Regions from separate parts of the Homo sapiens genome. Here all the other regions are linked to region 3. Evidence: promoter capture Hi-C in human tissues and cell types (Jung and others, 2019). All regions are on one chromosome and are shown on one strand. Each heading gives the region's core, a stretch centred on a gene start or on the middle of the fragment in contact. The rest is flanking DNA. Distances are from core to core; before and after follow the strand shown.

Region 1 (3,493 bases), core at 908-3,407, 550 kb after region 3:
CTACTCAGGAGGCTGAGGCATGAGAATCGCTTGAGCCCCAGAGGCAGAGGTTGCAGTGAGCCAAGATCGCACCACTGCACTCCAGCCTGGACAACAGAGTACGACTCCATCTCAAAAAAAAAATCTTACATGACTAGTCATAGCAGCATTATTCCCCCAAAATAGAAACAACCACAACCCAAATGTCCATCAGCTGATGAATGGATAAATGAAAGGTGGTATATTCATACAATGGAATATTATTCAGCAATAAAAAGGAGGACTAAAGTGCTGACACATGCTGTAACATAGATAAACCTTACAAACATCATGCTGGGGCCAGACACAGTGGTTCACACCTGTAATCCCAGCACTTTGGGAGGCTGAGGTGGGAGAATCACCTGAGGCCAGGAGTTCAGGACCAGCCTGAGCAACACAGTGAGACCCCATCTCTACAAAAAAATTAAAAATTAGCTGAGGCTGGCCATGGTGGCTCACACCTGTAATCCCAGCACTTTGGGAGGCTGAGGCGAGTGGAACACTTGAGGCCAAGAGTTCCAGACCAGGCTGGCCAACATGGTGATACCCTGTCTCTACTAAAAATACAAAAATTAGCCAGGCGTGGTGGTAGGCACCTGTAATCCCAGCTACTCGGGAGGCTGAGGTAGGAGAATCACTTGAACTCAGGAAGAGGAGGTTGCAGTGAGCTGAGATCTCACCACTGCACTACAGCCTGGGCGACACAGCGAGACTCTGTCTCCAAAACAACAACAACAACAACAACAACAAAGGAGTTTGAGACCAGCCTGGGCAACATAGTGAGACCTCATCTCTAAAACAAAATTTTAAAAATAAATAAAAAGGCGTCACATTTACTAACATCGATGAGGTCCAAGATATACCACCAAGTCAAAAGAAAAAAAAAGCAGGTTCAAAAATAAGCCTGTAGGCTGGGCAAGGTTGCTTCTGCCTGTAATCCCAGCACTTTGGGAGGCCAAGGCAGGAGGATCACTTGATATCAGAAGTTCGAGACCAGCCTGGCCAATATGGCAAAACCCCGTCTCTACTAAAAATATAAAAATTAGCCAGACATGGTGGTGGGCACCCCTAATCCCAGTTACTCAGGAGGCTGAGGCAGAAGAATCCCTTGAACCTGGGAGGTGGAGGTTATAGTCAGCTGAGATTGCGCCACTGCACTCCAGCCTGGGCAACAGAGCTAGACTCTGTGCGCCCCCAAACCTAAAAAAAAAAAAAGAAAGAAAGAAAGAAAAAGAAAGCATGCAGATTAAAACAGGTACTTAAGAGACTTTAAGAAGATAAAATTTCAGCTGGGCACGGTGGCTCACGCCTGTATCTCAGCACTTTGGGAGGCCGAGACGGGCGGATCACCTGAGGTCAGGAGTTTAAGACCAGCCTGGCCAACACGGTGAAACCCCAACTCTACCAAAAATACAAAAATTAGCTGGCACCTGGCATTCTGATTTTTAAGAAGCAAGCATAATAGGATTCCATTCTTATGAAAAAATCTGTATCTATATGTGTATAACAAAAATACCTGGAAATTTAGGATTTAGGGTACTCTTTTTATTTTTGGAGAACAGGGCTCACTCTCACCCAGGCTGGAGTGCAGTGGCAGGATCACGGCTCACTGCAGCCTCAAACTCCTGGGCTCAAGGAATCCTCTCAAGTAACTGAGACTACAGATGTACACTACCATGCCCAGCTAATTTTTGAATTTTTTCTTTTAGAGCTGGGGTCTTGCTATATTGCCCAGGCTGGCCCCAAACTCCTGGGCTCAAGCAATCCTCCCACCTCAGCCTCCCAAAGGGCTGGGATTACAGGAGTGAACTACCACACCCAATCTATGATACTCTTAATTTATATTTTACTGAATTTTCCAATTTTTGTTACTGCAATGGATAATAATCACTTCTACAGACAGAAAAAACAATAAAGCTTTTTGCTGTGTTGCAGGCATTCCTTTGGCCCTGACATTGTGTGAGCACAAAGGGTAGGTGGGGAATGACACTGGAGCTACAGGGAGATGGAGCAGGAGAAGACCAAGGCTCAGCGTCCTCCGGCCTTGGCGTCCAGGGCTGATTCAAGGCCTAGACCCCACTGCGGCTTCCCAGAGACTCAGACCCACTTCTCTTTTTTTTTTTTTAAACAGAGTTTCGCTCTTGTTGCCCAGGCTGGAGTACAATGGCGTGATCTCGGCTCACCACAACCTTCGCCTCCTGGGTTCAAATGATTCTCTTGCCTCAGCCTCCCGAGTAGCTGGGACTACAGGCATGCACCACCACGCCTGGCTAATTTTTTGTATTTTTAGTAGAGATGGGGTTTCTCCATGTTGGTCAGGCTGGTCTCAAACTCCCAAACTCAAGTGATCCACCTGCCTTGGCCTCCTAAAGTGCTGGGACTACAGGCATGAGCCACCGTGCCCGGCCTAAGACCCCTTCTCTTTCAGGGCAGCTGGTGCAGCTGCTGCACAGCCGACCCCCTTGCCCCACACTCCAAAGACACTGGGAATGTAATCCTGGCTTGATGAAGGTCACCCTGTTTCTGGCCGTACAATTCACCAAGGAGGAGAAGCCCTGGGCAGGAGGCCTGGGGCTAGGGGCAGGTTCTCATCCTGCCTACTACCAGCACAAAAACATTATCGCAGCTCAATGAACACTCTCTACGCATCAGGCAGTCCTGCTAGGTGATGTACCTGATTCATTTTATTTCCTCCTCCTGATGACCTGAAGTGATGGGTGGGACCACCATCTTCATTGTACAGATGAGCAAACTGAGGCTCAGGGAACCTACATGAGTGGACCCAGGTGCTCAAAGTGGAGGTGCCTGCAGCAGCCACTATCTTTGAGACTGGACCTGGCTGGACCCCTCATGGGTGGACCTCAGTGAATTCTGCCAGGATCCCAGGAAGGGTGCCTTCCCTCATTTCCCAGATGAGGACTCTGAGAATGAGAGGGGAAGGCCACTTGTCCATGTCCCACAGTGACTGTGTGGCAGGAAGAGGTGCAAGCCAGAGCCTGTGCTCTCAGCTGCCATACCAGGCAGCCTCTTTCACCTGTGAGGGGCCATGGGCATGCTCCCCACCTCCGTGGCTGGCACTAGTAATATCAATTAATAATAATAGATAATAGCAATAATTATTATGACATATAATTATATCAAATGTATTATATTAACATCATCATCATCATCATCATCCACATCAACACAGTTGTGTTGTAACCTGGGGAGTGTGTGTCAGTGGCCAGTGTGCTGTCCTGTATGCCAGCGCATTTGCTCTTCTCAGCAGATCTATAAGTCTTCATTCTGACTTTATTTCCCCCCATTTTAAAGGCCCAGGGAGCAGACCACATGGGGACTACACCTCTGGGGCACAGTTGCTACTCCTGTCCTGTACAGGGCAGCCCAGTGGGAAGCTCTCTGAGGCTGTGCGGTAAGCACCTTTCCCATTGCAGGGAGGTTGGGGGGCAGCTCTCCAGAGGATCTGGGTCCATCT
Region 2 (3,681 bases), core at 769-3,268, 520 kb after region 3:
TTCGGCCAGCTACTGAAAACAAAGGGGTAAAATAATTCAAACAAAGCAAAGGGATGTACAGTGAAAAACAAGTCTTTTCTCCTCAGCCCCCAGTCCCCGCCCGGGAGAACCCATGTGCGCACTGGAGCACATGCACGTGTGTTCCTGCCCCCTCCTTGGTACTAACAGAAGCGCTCCCCACAAAGTGCGCTGTATCTGGCCTTTTTCACAAAAAAAACATGTATCTCAGAGCTTCTTCCACAGCAGTACACGGGACCGCCTCGTTCTTTTTCATGCCTAGAATTCCATGGCATGCAAAAGTCTTTAGTATTCATGTAACCAGATCTAGAATTCTGGCTCCATGGTTTTCTGCCTTTTCCATAGGCTTATTTCTGTTCTGCACAACAGCCCTGGGAGGCAGGTGGTCCCTGTGTTAGAGATGAGGAAACCAGGGTGACGGGATTAGTCTGTTCTCACGCTGCTGTGAAGAAATGCCCGAGACTGGGGTAATTTATAAAGAAAAGAGGTTTAATTGACTCACAGTTCTGCGTGGCTGGGGAGGCCTCAGGAAACTTACAATCATGGTGGAAGGCAGCTCTTCACAGGGCGGCAGGAGGGAGAGTGATACTGAGCAAAGGGGGAAGCTGCTTATAAAACCATCAGATCTCGTGAGAACTCACTCACTATCATGAGAACAGCATGGGGGAAACTGCCACCATTATTCAATTATCTCTACTTGGTCCTGCTCTTGACACCTAGGGATTATTAAAATTCAAGGTGAGATTTGGTGGGGACACAGAGTCAAACTATATCAGTGACTCACCATCCCAGTTTGCCTGGGACTGTGCCAGGAAAACCCTCAGTTTTGGACAAACCAGGATGGTTGGTCACCCTAAAGGTAAACTGAGGCTTGGAGGGTAAGGACATTCTCCAAGATCTTGTGGTTGATCCGTGGAGGCCTGGGATGGCCACTGAAGTCCACCTGATGGTGATGATACTCTAGGAGGACAATGATCATATAGTAAGTGTCTCCTCTGTGCCTGCCCCTTCTTCAGCCCTCATAACAGCCCCAGGAGGCAGACAACGAGGCACAGATAGAACTTGTGACAGGCGAACTGGGGTCAGATCTCAGCAGCAGGGCTTGGCTGTGTGACCACTGTGGTCAGCTCCTTCTCAGCCTCCTGTCCTGGGCCCACAGCAGACATACAACAAATGTTTGTTGAGGGGAAAAAAAGGCATGAATGAAGTATTATTATCCTCATTTTATGGGAAAAACTGAGGCACAAAGAAGCTGTCCCTGGCACAGGGTCACAATTTGAACCTGGACAGGGGCTCCAGAGCCCATGACACGTTTCCCTCTTGTAGAAGGTCCTTGTCTGTAACCTGGTGGTGCCTCCTGCCTCTGACTCCTCCGGCCAGTCGCCCTGACAGCCCCCTCACCGCGTTGCACTACCTGGTCCCCTGGTCCCAGCCTCCTTTCATGGAAGGAGGTCTTGCCGTCTGCCTCCCTACTCCTGACTTGGGGCCCCTGCTCTGAACCTTCCACCCCGTCCGCCTGGACTGGATGCTTCTCCCGGATCCTGATGCCTGAGCTTCAGCTTCCCCACTCCGGACTGTTTCATGCGTTCATTCATGTGTCCAACTCTTCACTCCTTTCCTCAACAAACATTGACTGAAATTGAAATGAGCCAGTTCTACCCCGGTGTTGGGAATTCCGAGATGAATCCAGCCTGAGCTTTGTCCTTGGGGGACACAGAAAACAACAAAGAAATGGCACTTGTTACCCAGAGACCCAGAGAGATGCAGCTCTGATGGAGATGGCGCAGGCACGGGCTGCTGGGGCTTGAGTTCAGGGGTTGGGGGGAGGTTCCTAGCCTGGGGGCTCTGGAAAAGCTTCCTGGAGAAGGTTATGCTGGAGTCTGGAAAGATAAGAAAGAATTAGCAAGACAGGCATTGGGAGGGGAGGCGAGAGGTACTGTGACATCATGGACAAAGCGGTGGAAGACAGCGTGAGACATTCAAGAAGTGCACGTTGTTCCTTACAGCTGGGTCCAAGCTGTCCTCAGGTGTGGACGCGTGGCTCTAGGAAGCCCAGCACCCTCCCGAGTACCTAGCCAGCTCCGGGCCCAGCAGGGCTTCCGAGAATTTCATGTCCAGAAATTTATCAGAAAAAAACACAACAAAACAATCAGCAATGTGGACATGAAGTTACGCAGGACGGAGGATGTTTACTGCGGTGTTTTTATCACAGAAAACGAGTGAAACAGCCTCTGTGCCCAGCCACGAGAAGGGGCCACACTTGTCAAAGGGCCACCACCGGCTGGAGTCATCCAAAAGGCTGAGGAGTCAGATTTCAGAGACTACTTAAAGGCACCAGACAATGCATCTGATGTAACTGTAGGTAAAAGACAGCAAGAGGCAAACTATTTTTTATTAGGAGACCTACATATGCATATATATATATATATGAAATGATATTAGGAAGAAATGTGTCAAATGCTTCACAGTGGTTATCTCTGGTGATGGACTAACCTGGGGGTTGTAGTTCCTTTTTAAAAATAATTTCAGCCAGACGCGGTCTCTCACACATGTAATCCCAACACTTTGGGAGGCCAAGGTGGGCGGATCACTTGAGGCCAGGAATTTGAGACCAGCCTGGCCCATGTGGCAAAACTCTGTCTCTACCAAAAATACAAAAATTAGCCGGGCATGGTGGTGCATGCCTGTAATCCCAGCTACTCAGGAGGCTGAGGCAGGAGAATCACCTGGGAGGCGGAGGTTGCAGTGAGACAAGATTGTGCCACTGCACTCCAGTCTGGGGAATAGAGTGAGACCGTGTCTCAAAATAAATAAATAAATAAAAATGGGCCAGACACGGTGGCTCATGCCTGTAATCCCAACACTTTGGGAGGCCGAGGCAGGCAGATCATGAGGTCAGGAGTTCAAGAGCAGCCCGACTAACATGGTGAAACCCCATCTCTACTAAAAAATACAAAAATTAGCCAGGCATGGTGGCACATGCCTGTAATCCCAGCTACTCGGGAGGCTGAGGCAGAATTGCTTGAACCCGGGAGATGGAGGTTGCAGAAGGCCAAGATCGCACCACTGCACTCCAGCCTGAGTGACAGAGTGAGATTCCATCTCAGAAAGAAAAATAAATAAATAATAATAATCATTTCCTCGGCTGGGCACCATGGCTCATGCCTGTAACCCCAGCACTTTGGGAGGCTGAGGTGGGGGGATTGCTTGAGCCCAGGAGTTCAAGACCAGCCTGGACATGAGGATACCTTGTCTCTACAAAATACAAAAATTAGCTGGGCATGGTGGTGTGTGCCTGTAGTCCCAGCTACTCGGGAGGCTGAGGTGGGAGGATCGCTTGCCTAGGTGACAGAGCAAGACCCTGTCTAAAATAAACATTCCTGTGTTCTCTGATTTTGTAATGGTGGGCCAGTCTCACATTTTCATTTTCAGAGACAGATTCTAGGAGGCAACTCCATGAGGCCACAACTTCTCTTTCCAGCATCCTCCTGAGCCATGCCTCCCAGCCCAGCAAAAACCCCCAGGGAGCCACCCGGAATGACGTGTCGTCCTCCCATCCCGTGTACAGTGAGCCCACGTGCTCTGACTCCTGCCGTTCCTGTCTGAATGCCCTCTGCTTTCTCTCTCCATCTGGCACAGTTCCCCCAGCCCCCAGGCCCCCCT
Region 3 (3,722 bases), core at 704-3,203:
AGTGGTGGAAATGCGTTCTGAACCCAGGCAGTCTAGTTCTAGGATTCTGGCATATGTCACCAAAAGAGATTGGGATATGAAAGGCCTTTAGGGAAAAATACAAAGCATGAGAAAAAAAATGGAAATACTAAAAAATAATAGGCCATTTATGGAGCTTTGCTCCTTATCAGTTATCTTTCTTCAGGCAGCTAGAAATGGTGGGAAACACTCAGGATCGAAGCTCTAGGAAAACTGGTTCCAAGTCTGGAAACTATGAGACTGCAGCAAATTCCCCCTAGTCTCTCAAGCTTCCTCCTCCTTGGGGTTAATAGCCAATCTGCCAATCTTCAGGATGGTTGTGCAGGTCACAAGAGTTAATGGGTGTGTGTTTCAATGATCTATTACTGAAATGATCTATAATAAACCACCCCACTCTAAAGCTGGGCTTAGCTGGGCAGTTCTTTTGGTCCACATGGTGTTCATGAGGTTATTCATGTAGCTGCATTCAGCTAGTAGCTCAGTGGGGGTTGGAATGTCCAAGATGACTTCAGTTACATATTATAGTGCTTAGCTGTAGTTTCTAGAATGTCTTGAGGAGTTGGCTGGGCCTCCCTCTCTCTCCAGGTGCCTTTCCAGCAGAGTAGCTACACTTCTTTATAACCAAGAAGGTAGAATCAGACGTTTTCAATCCTCTTAAGGCCTAGGCTCAGTACTGGCAGAATCACTTGTAGCACATCCTATTGGTCAAAGCAACCAACATGACCAGCCAGATTCAACAGGAGGTAAAACAGAGTCTATCTCTTGAGGAGAGAAACCGTATGCTCATCATGCAAGGACGGACAGAACTACGTGGCAGCCATCTTTGCAGAAAATCCACCACAGTGGTGCCCATAGGTGGGGATCAGAGTTCAACTGTCCCTTGCCCCCTAGAATTAGATAAAAAGAGTCTAATGAACTGTTAGCATAATGCTAAGTGCTGCAGCACACAAAATGCTCGGCAAGTGCTGATGATTATTATTAATCATTATTATTCTTTTAATAGCTTTTTTAAAACAGTCTAAGATAGCACTGGTACTGTATTCAGTTTAAAGTGATATACATGGGTCAAATGAACTTTGAGTTCTTTCCCAACCTTAATACCATGATTCTTTGAGTCTCTTTTTCACAGATTTGGAAACTGAGGCTTAGGAAGATTGCGTGACTTGTCTGGAGTCACACACTAAGCTAGTGCATGACGTCCACATTCAGAGATATCTCCCTCCACTGAATATGCTGGTTTTCACTCGTTCATTTAAAAAATAATGTATTGGGCATCTACCACAAGCCCAAAGGAGTATACATAAACATATACTGACAATTATTTATTGAATACATCCTATGTAATACTGTGTCACTGAATCCTCATCACAAGCCTATGATGAACCAACCCCCTTCCCATTTCACAGATGGGAATGAGGAAGAGCAAGGTAAAAAACGAACAAACAAAAAAACAGGGTCCACCCTCATGGGGATTACAGTCTACTAAAGAGGATATAGGATAGTCAAACAAATACTTAAAATCAAACAAATACTTAAATATATAATTACAAATTATTCTTGGAGTCGTACTGCTCTTGGAGCCCCAGTGCCCACCCTTTCCCTCAAATCAAGGTCTCAGGTAACCCTGGCAATGGGTCTTCCTGCCAGTAGTAAAGATGGCGCTGAGAGCACGAGCGCACTTTCGCACACCCCCATTACCCACAATGCAGCGGGAATAAGGGAGGCTCAGTTTCTGCCAGGAGCTAATATGGCTTCCTTAGTTACACCGTTCTCTCTCTTCACCTAATCAGCGACCTTACTTTCCCAGACCAGACTGTCGAGCAGGAGCTAAGACTCCTTTTCCCCTCTGCTGACCGCCACTACAGGAGCGGTTGAAGCCAGACGACCACCTTGTGGAGTTAAACTCCGTAACCAGGGAGCACCACTTCCGCTGACGTCATTACGGCGACACGTGGATCCAAGATGGCGACGGCGATGGTGAGTGAAGGAGACTCCGGGAGCGGGAGCTGGAGCGGGGCCCTCCGGGGTATCCCAGGATCTTCCAGCACCCCATGCCTGGCCCTGAGCCACCTCCGGGACCCCTGACTCAGGCCTGAGGGCTACCTCTGACTGGGCTTGTCTTCCCCGAAATCCACCTCCCTGGCCCTGCCCCTGCACTCAGGCTTGTGAAGGCCCCGAGTTTTGGGGGAGGCGCCGTTTCGGAGGAAGACCTCGGCTGCTGCCTTCGCCGGTTCCCATTCTACTTTTGGTCTCCGCCCACTGTGAGCCCCATTTTCCATTTCTCACCTCCCTGTCCTGACCCCTCTGAAGACCCCCTCCCGTTATTCTCATCCTTGCTCCTCCCCGTCACGTCCAGACCCTGCTCTCCCCGCCTCCCCACCATCATAACCAGTCCGCAGATGTGACCTCTCCTCTGACCACCCTCCCAGCCCAAGCGCTGCCTCAGATCCTTTTCAGAGCCCTGTCCTCACTTACACTCATAGCTGTCCCCATCGCGCACCCCCTTGACTGCCGCTACCCCAGAGCTTGCCTTCACCTACCCCACCCCCATCTTTCATCCCTAGAGGCTTCCCTGCCCTTCCTGTCTTCTCTCAGTCAACTCCCTGCCCCTCTCTTAGGGACCTTTTACCCTGTTGGTTCTCAAACTTTACTGTGCATAAGAATCTCGAGGTGTGTAGGGGGAGGCATGCTAAAAATGCAGTTTCCTGAGCAGCCCCACTCCCAGAGATTCTAATTCCATAGGGCTAGGTGATGCCCAGGAATCTGCCCTTTTATAAGCACTCTAGTGATTATATAGTGGAGGTGGTCTGTGAACTACGTTTTGAAAAACACTAATAGCCCCACCTCACTGCTCTCCTTCCCATTCCCCAACATGGCCACACAGCTCGTTAGGGATGAAGGCTCTTTATTATGAAGCTATATGTTGGGATGAAGTCTGTGTGTGGATGAGGGTGGAGGTAAAATAGCCATGCTTGGAAGTTGGGTCAGAGCTTGCGGGCTCCTGGTGCAGAACCTTGGAAGTAAATCTTTGAAGGACTGGCCCTTTTTCTAAAAGTTTAGTTCAAATTCTGCTTGTCAAGAGACCAGAACTAAAATTGAAGTCACTTAGTCCAGAATGATTTCCTGGGTCTTCCTGCATACTGCCTCCTCAGCAGATAATTTCGTCCGGGGAGTGAATGACAAGGAAGACTCAGAGAAAAGGAAATGACATTTGACTTTAGCAAAGGAAGATTCTGGCTTAAATAATTTGGTGTTGGTTTTCTCCAAACAGGGATATATTATTGACTGGTAGCAATTTTCCCTCCTTCTCTTAGCTGACTGAGAACTTACCTTTGTTTAATGAGGGATTCCTTATTTAGAACTTCAGAGGTCAGGTAAAAAGATTTCATGGCCTTACCTGGTTTCTGTGGTTTCAGACTTCAGGCTGAACCACGAGTGGGGCAAATCCTCAAAGTAGTATGTTGAAACCTACATATATGTATATATATTCTGGTACCACATTCAGAACAGAGATAGTGTAAGAACTTAAAAGGAAATCACACCCTCTCTTGCTATAAGGAAAACATTGAGTAAAGTGGTATTTACGGCACTGCACTGGGAAATCCCTGCCTTGTTCAGAGATTTTTAAGAGGTTATAAGCTAGCAATACATATATGTGGTACACATCTATTTAGTCAACAAATATTTGAGTACCAATTCTGTTC

Evidence for each region. The method cuts DNA at HindIII sites, captures the fragments that hold promoters and counts their contacts. A contact is called where the count stands out against the background at its distance.
Region 1: a contact is called between a fragment that was not itself captured here and the fragment with the promoter of TM9SF4 in region 3, in 1 of the 25 tissues and cell types used here (stomach).
Region 2: a contact is called between a fragment that was not itself captured here and the fragment with the promoter of TM9SF4 in region 3, in 1 of the 25 tissues and cell types used here (lymphoblastoid cells).

What each region holds. Positions count from the first base shown.
Region 1 is chr20:32,656,751-32,660,243 of GRCh38, forward strand. The region is part of intron 1 of C20orf203 (chromosome 20 open reading frame 203); the gene reads right to left. Among named protein-coding and RNA genes, the nearest start is that of C20orf203, 15 kb to the right of the region's middle. The HindIII fragment of the contact is 3,050 bases long and covers 633-3,493 here.
Region 2 is chr20:32,632,373-32,636,053 of GRCh38, forward strand. C20orf203 (chromosome 20 open reading frame 203) reads right to left here. Exons shown (of 6, transcript NM_182584.4): 6 at 1-1,898. Among named protein-coding and RNA genes, the nearest start is that of C20orf203, 40 kb to the right of the region's middle. The HindIII fragment of the contact is 6,401 bases long and covers 1-3,681 here.
Region 3 is chr20:32,107,761-32,111,482 of GRCh38, forward strand. TM9SF4 (transmembrane 9 superfamily member 4) reads left to right here and starts at 1,954. Exons shown (of 18, transcript NM_014742.4): 1 at 1,954-1,995. The coding sequence starts at 1,981. RefSeq lists enhancers at 1,271-2,470, 1,473-2,217, 1,875-2,054, 2,218-2,960. The HindIII fragment of the contact is 9,910 bases long and covers 1-3,722 here.